2 separate regions of the Homo sapiens genome follow, and region 1 is linked to region 2. The links are contacts of gene promoters, found by promoter capture Hi-C in blood cells and fetal thymus (Javierre and others, 2016). All regions are on one chromosome and are shown on one strand. The core of a region is centred on a gene start or on the middle of the fragment in contact, and the rest is flanking DNA. Distances in the headings are between cores, read along the strand shown.

Evidence for each region. The method cuts DNA at HindIII sites, captures the fragments that hold promoters and counts their contacts. A CHiCAGO score of 5 or more calls a contact.
Region 1: a fragment that was not itself captured here is called in contact with the fragment with the promoter of ANGPTL3 in region 2 in 2 of 17 cell types (erythroblasts and M2 macrophages); the score reaches 6.6 in erythroblasts.

What each region holds. Positions count from the first base shown.
Region 1 is chr1:62,728,128-62,731,686 of GRCh38, forward strand. No RefSeq gene overlaps it. Among named protein-coding and RNA genes, the nearest start is that of DOCK7-DT, 41 kb to the left of the region's middle. The HindIII fragment of the contact is 811 bases long and covers 1,480-2,290 here.
Region 2 is chr1:62,596,136-62,599,805 of GRCh38, forward strand. It overlaps ANGPTL3 (angiopoietin like 3), which reads left to right and starts at 1,385. Exons shown (of 7, transcript NM_014495.4): 1 at 1,385-1,926; 2 at 2,561-2,671. The coding sequence starts at 1,432. The region is part of intron 14 of DOCK7 (dedicator of cytokinesis 7); the gene reads right to left. The HindIII fragment of the contact is 12,927 bases long and covers 1-2,747 here.

The DNA of each region.
Region 1 (3,559 bases), core at 635-3,134, 130 kb after region 2:
CAGTTTATGCAGAAAAGGGGTAGTAACTGTTGAATGGTTAGGTACCATGGAAAGGGGTGATAACAACCCTGGTGTTGCCATGGCAACGGTAAATTGACATGGCACACTGGTGGGTGGGTCTGATTGAAAACTGCTTTCTCCTTGGCAACACCAGGGAGAAAGTGTGAAAAAGTGTCTTGGCTAGTCCTCAGTCTAGTCCAGTATCCAAGTCCCACCCCTAGAATCAAGTCCCGCCTCCTACCTTAAAAGTACAGAGGAGAAAAAGCACAAATATTAATATTTCAAGATATTATAACATTTCCAACAGTGCTGGAGCCAGCTCATACTGGCTCATAAGAATAGATGGCTTATATTCAGGAATTTTATGAGACAGTGGTTAACCATTATTAAAAATTAAATAAACAGAATATTTATTATAACATAATGAAATAAATTATATTAAAAACAGACAATACTCAAAACTTATCACTTCCTAATTATTGTAGTGAATCCTACTATTATCTATCTTCTTGAGGTTCTTTACATCTATCGTGTCTGTATCACAGAAATATTATATAATGGTGTTCCATATATTTATTTATAAATAAATAAATTAAATAAAACAAAACCAGGTATTATTCCGGCTGTCAAAAAACATTTGCCTCTAAACTTTCTTTTTTTTTTTTTGAGACAGAGTCTCGCTCTGTCACCTAGGCTGGAGTGCAGTGGCACGATCTCGGCTCACTGCAACCTCTGCCTCCCAGGTTCAAGCGATTCTCCTGCCTCAGCCTCCCCAGTAGCTGGGATCACAGGCGCATGCCATCACGCCCAGCTAATTTTTTGTATTTTTAGTAGAAATGGGGTTTCACCGTGTTAGCCAGGATGGCCTCCATCTCCTAACCTTGTGATCTGCCCGCCTTGGGCTCCCAAAGTGCTGGGATTACAGGTGTAAGCCACTGCGCCCAGCCTGCCTCTAAACTTTCAACCTATGCATGCCAAGGTTCAAAACCCTTCTGAAACAATTGATTATTGTTCTACATCCTTCACTAAACCCTTCCACACCACATCCATCCGAGCTGGGCTTAATGCCCCTCCTACACATTCTTAGCATATCATTCCTACCTACCACCTTTGTGTTAAAATGATCTGCTTATCGGCTTCTCTTTGGCTAAAGCTAAACTGTAAGCTTCTGTATGGAAAGCCTCCACAAACCCCAGATGAGACTGAATTTCCCTATTATAATTGTCCACAATTCCCTATAGTTTGGCTTTATAATACTTATGCGTGTGATTATATTTGTAACAGGAATAGCAATTAACGCTCTCTAGTCTTACATACCCATTAAGGCTGAGGCTTTCTTTCACACCCCTCAGTTTCCTCACAGCATTCCTTTTATTTTCAAAAGATTGCTTGAAAAAAAATGTTGAATGTTTCTTCCTCTTTTATTTAAAACAATAGTTTATATTTGTACAGAGTTTTTAAAGTTACATAATTCTATGAAGCTTATAATGAAAAAAGCAGTACACTGTTTCTCCTTTTCTACCCCCAATCCCCAGTACTCAAAGGCAACATTTAAAAGATTTTATTAGTTGTTTCTTCTCATACTTGCCTCTGTCTTCCTAAATAACATTCTTGTATTGCTGCTATTTGGAGATTGTTCAGTTTCATATATTTTGGCTTCCTGCTATGGAAGATGAAGATTAAGCTCTCTTATAATGCTCCCAACACCACACCCCATCACAAACACATTCACATACATTCTTTTCCTCCTCCATTTCTCCCTATATAATTACATCATTGCACAACTTTTGGTTAATTCAACATGACCATACATTGTACAATGACTACATTTCCTCTTTTATACAATATGTTTTGGTTTTCCCGGAATTAATAATTGCCTATATTGTTTGCTTACTTTTCTATGTACCTATAACTAATTCATCCTCAAACATTCCTCGAGAATTATAAATTTCCTTTCATAATGTTAAAATACATTGGTTGTTTCTTATTTTCATTCATTTTGTGACAACATCCTTCTTGGAGGTCTCTGTTAACCCTGCCCCCAACGTGAACAGATTGCTTTCTAGAAATGTTTTGCAGGTGTCACTCTAGGATCTCCTGCATGCTCCTCCTGAGGAGTCAGTTCTCCTGCTTCTGTTGGAGTCCCTATTTTCTGGATCCTCTTTCTTTTATGTTTGGCCTTCTTGCTTTGTGCTTCCATTCTCCAGTAATTCCCAAGAAAGAGTACATGTTGGGTATAATTTTAAGAACACAGACATCTGTAAATGTCTTTCTTCTACACTTGAATTAAAGCTTGGCTACATTTAGAATTCTAGGTTGAAACCATTTTCCTTGGAATACTGAAGATATTGCTCCATTGTCTTCTCACCTGAAACATTGCAAACTGATGGTGTGTGAAAGAAAGCCTCAGCCTTAATGGGTATGTAAGACTAGAGAGCATTAATTGCCATTCCTGTTACAAATATGATCACACGCGTAAGTATTATAAAGCCAAACTATAGGGAATTGTGGACAATTGTAATAGGGGAATTCAGTCTCATCTGGGGTTTGTGGAGGCTTTCCATACAGAAGCTTACAGTTTAGCCAGAGAAGCCGATAAGCAGATCATTTTAATGCAAAGGTGGTAGGTAGGAATGATATGCTAAGAACGCGTAGGAGGGGCATTGAAAGCGCAGCCCGGATGGATGTGGTGTGGAAGGGGTTAGTGAAGGATACAGAACAATAATCAATTGTTTCAGAGAGGTTTTGAACCTTGACATGCTAGGTTGAAAGTTTTGAGACAAATGTTTTTGACTGTCAAAATAATATCTGAGTTTGCATTATTTTATTTTATTTATTTTTGAGACGGAGTTTTGCTCTTGGTCTCCTAGGCTGGAGTGCTATGGCGCGATCTCGGCTCACTGCAACCTCTGCCTCCCGGGTTCAAGAAATTCTCATGCCTCAGCCTCCCGAGAAGCTGTGATTACAGGGACCTGCAACCATGCCTGGCTAATTTTTTCGTATTTTTAATAGAGACAAGGTTTCATCGTCTTGGCCAGGCTGGTCTTGAACTCCTGACCTCAGGTGATCCACCCACCTCAGCCTCCCAAAGTGCTGGGATTACAGGCGTGAGCCACCACGCCCAGCCTTATTTATTTGTTTTTGAGACAGGATCTTGTTCTGTCACCCAGGTTGGAATGCAGTGGTATCTTGGCTTCCTGCAGCTTCTGCCTCCTAGGCTCAAGGGATCCTCCCACCTCAGCCTTCTGAGTAGCTGGGACCACAAGTACTTGCCACCATGACCAGCTACTTTTTTAAATTTTTTTTAGCAACGAGGTCTCACTTTGTTACCCAGGCTGGTCTCAAACTCCTGGGCTCAAGCTATCCAGCTGCCTTGACCTCCCAAAATGCTGGGATTACAGGCATGAACCACCATGCCTGGTGGTTTTAATATTTTAATAATCTCTTTATAGATTTGGTAAAGAGAGGGGAAAATAGGCCAAATAATAGCAATTTTTTGTTTGTTTGTTTTTTGAGAGGGAGTCTAACTTTGTCACCCAGGCTAGAGTGCAGTGGTGCC
Region 2 (3,670 bases), core at 135-2,634:
CACTACCTGTTTGCCCAGCACTGTTCTAAGTGCTCTACATGTATTATTGTTAAATTATCATAACACTATGAATTATGTACTATAATTACCCCAGCTTTACAGATGAGGAGACTAATCCATGGGGAGGTTAAGTAACTTGTCCAAGGCCAGACAGCTAGAGCCGGCTTTTGGACCCACACCACAGTCTGACTCCAGCACCCATATTCTTAACAATTTCACCATATTAATATGTCAAGATTAAGCAGTTTTAAAGGATGCTATTTTCTCACAAATTTCTTAATATGAACACTCAATAAGAATAATCACTAATATAAGCATTTAGTATTTTTTTAACACTAAGTTGGAAGCATAGTGGAACATTTATTTTTAGAAATATTATTAATTGGCTGGGCTCACGCTTGTAATCGGCTGGGCTCATGCCTGTAAATTTTGGGAGGCCAAGGTAAAAGAATTGCTTGAGCCCAGTATTTCCAGACCAGCATGGGCAATACATTAAGACATCATCTTTAAAAAAAAAATGTTATTAATCTCCTCTTTTTGTTAAATGTATATTATCAAAATTGTTACTAAGCTAACAAACTTCAGAAAAACTTATGATGGGCAAGCTGCTTGTGACATTGAAGGTATTTAAGATTCAATTCTAGTTTGGTCCTAGATGACCACATATCCATTGTTCCTTCAACGAGCACATGGTAAAGAGCCTAGAACACAGAGACACAGAACACAGTGGAGAAAAGGGAGTGAAATGTCTTTAATGACACTTACTATATATGGGATTTTGTGACAATATACAAGGATGGTTAAGACATATAAGGTGATGCAAAAAAACATATTAACAATTATAGTGACAAAAAATGAGGAGCATATAATTATACATTGATTTATACAGAGTACCAGAGGAACACAGCATTGAGAGCCGTAACACCACCTGAGGGAGTGGAGAAAGGCTTCAGAGAGAAAGTGTTTTTTGGAATGGATCACTGTTTCCAAAAGAACTAAAGTACAGTTTGAGAAATGCATACTTAATTCATTACTTTTTTCCCCTCAACTTTAATAATAAATTTACCCAACAAAAAAGTTTATTTTTGACTTGTAAATCTCTTAAAATCATAAAAAAGTAAAATTAGCTTTTAAAAACAGGTAGTCACCATAGCATTGAATGTGTAGTTTATAATACAGCAAAGTTAAATACAATTTCAAATTACCTATTAAGTTAGTTGCTCATTTCTTTGATTTCATTTAGCATTGATCTAACTCAATGTGGAAGAAGGTTACATTCGTGCAAGTTAACACGGCTTAATGATTAACTATGTTCACCTACCAACCTTACCTTTTCTGGGCAAATATTGGTATATATAGAGTTAAGAAGTCTAGGTCTGCTTCCAGAAGAAAACAGTTCCACGTTGCTTGAAATTGAAAATCAAGATAAAAATGTTCACAATTAAGCTCCTTCTTTTTATTGTTCCTCTAGTTATTTCCTCCAGAATTGATCAAGACAATTCATCATTTGATTCTCTATCTCCAGAGCCAAAATCAAGATTTGCTATGTTAGACGATGTAAAAATTTTAGCCAATGGCCTCCTTCAGTTGGGACATGGTCTTAAAGACTTTGTCCATAAGACGAAGGGCCAAATTAATGACATATTTCAAAAACTCAACATATTTGATCAGTCTTTTTATGATCTATCGCTGCAAACCAGTGAAATCAAAGAAGAAGAAAAGGAACTGAGAAGAACTACATATAAACTACAAGTCAAAAATGAAGAGGTAAAGAATATGTCACTTGAACTCAACTCAAAACTTGAAAGCCTCCTAGAAGAAAAAATTCTACTTCAACAAAAAGTGAAATATTTAGAAGAGCAACTAACTAACTTAATTCAAAATCAACCTGAAACTCCAGAACACCCAGAAGTAACTTCACTTAAAGTAAGTAGAAAATAAAGAGGGTTCATGTTTATGTTTTCAATGTGGATCTTTTAAAAAAAATATTTCTAAGGCATGCCATTTGAAATACTTTGTTGCATTGTTGAAATACTTTTTTTTCCAAGAAAAATAATCTCCAGAAAATAAAATTTCCTATTATAATTTCAAGTTAGTTTTTTGTTTCCCTAATGTTATATATGAAAACACTGAAAATTTGCATTTTATATGAAAATTACAAATCGGTTAAATTATACAATCTAGAACACTATGTCATTACACTATTGTAAATTACTGAAGGTAAGTAAAAAGTTAAAAAAAATTTAAAACTATTCTCCAGTGTTTAAAACAGATTAAATAATACAGTAAATGGAAAAGATTTATTCATATGAAAATATGCTGGGCTTTTTCTTTTAATTGAAGTTCAGAAAATCAAATTTTAGAGATAGTACAATTTAAATAAAATGTTAAGGACAAAAATATGTGCTATTTGAAAGAAGCATACAAGGGGAAGGAATTGCCAATATTCATTTTTCAAATCCATTATTAGTTTAAAAATTTAGATTATGATAGTGTTACAGGAAATTAATAGAAAAGAAAGAGGAAAGCAACTTATAACCAACCTACTCTCTATATCCAGACTTTTGTAGAAAAACAAGATAATAGCATCAAAGACCTTCTCCAGACCGTGGAAGACCAATATAAACAATTAAACCAACAGCATAGTCAAATAAAAGAAATAGAAAATCAGGTAAGTCAGTATTTTAATGGTATGTCCCATCTTTCACACAGGTCTGTAAAAACACTGAATCCTAAAATTATTTACAAGCTTTAACTGGATCATGAGTAAAATTATCACATCAGCATAACTGTTAAAATTGCAGGCTCTGAAGCTAATAAACTACCTGCATTTAAACCATGGCTCTAAAACTTTGTGTGACCTTGAATAAATTACTTCACCCCTTTATCTCTCAGTTTCCTCACATATACTACAAAGATAATAACAGAACTTATAGGATTATTGTAAGAAAAAAAATTAATTCATAGCAGCCAATGTCATCTTACTAAAATTCAAATTAGATCATGTTTCTCTTTGCTCAAAACCACACAATAGCTTTCCATTTCACTCATATTGGCTCTTTAGACCAAGATTACCCAACCCTTCGTCATCTCACTGACTTCACCTCCTCTACTCTAGTTATTCTGACCGCTTTACCAGTATTCAAACACATCAAACATACTGCCACCTCAAAGCCTTTGCCCTTGTTGTTTCCTCTAACTGGAACGCTCTTCTGCCCTGGTATCTACGTGGCCCACTCTCTGATTTCCCTTAGGGTCGTTATCAAACAAAAAATTCCCAATGAAGACTTACAAGGTCACTTAACCAAAAATCACAACCGCCTGGTCCCATCCCTGAAAACTTCTACTTCCTTAGCTACTTTTCTCCTGCACACTCACCTTTATTTAACATAACATAAATTTTAGTTATTTATCTCTTCTATTCCTGCACTAAAATGTAAGCTCTGTGAATACAGGGATTTTTTCCATTATCTTCATATTTTCCATTATTTGTATATACTCCAGAATATAGAATACTGTATGGCACACAGTAGGCATTTCTGTTGAATTAATAAATGTAATGTCATATTCACACAGAAGCGTGTGCTATGATTATTATTACTTGGATTACTAGAAATAGTGTGCCTCATAATTAAAGGTCAACATTCAACAATGTAATTAATCTACAATG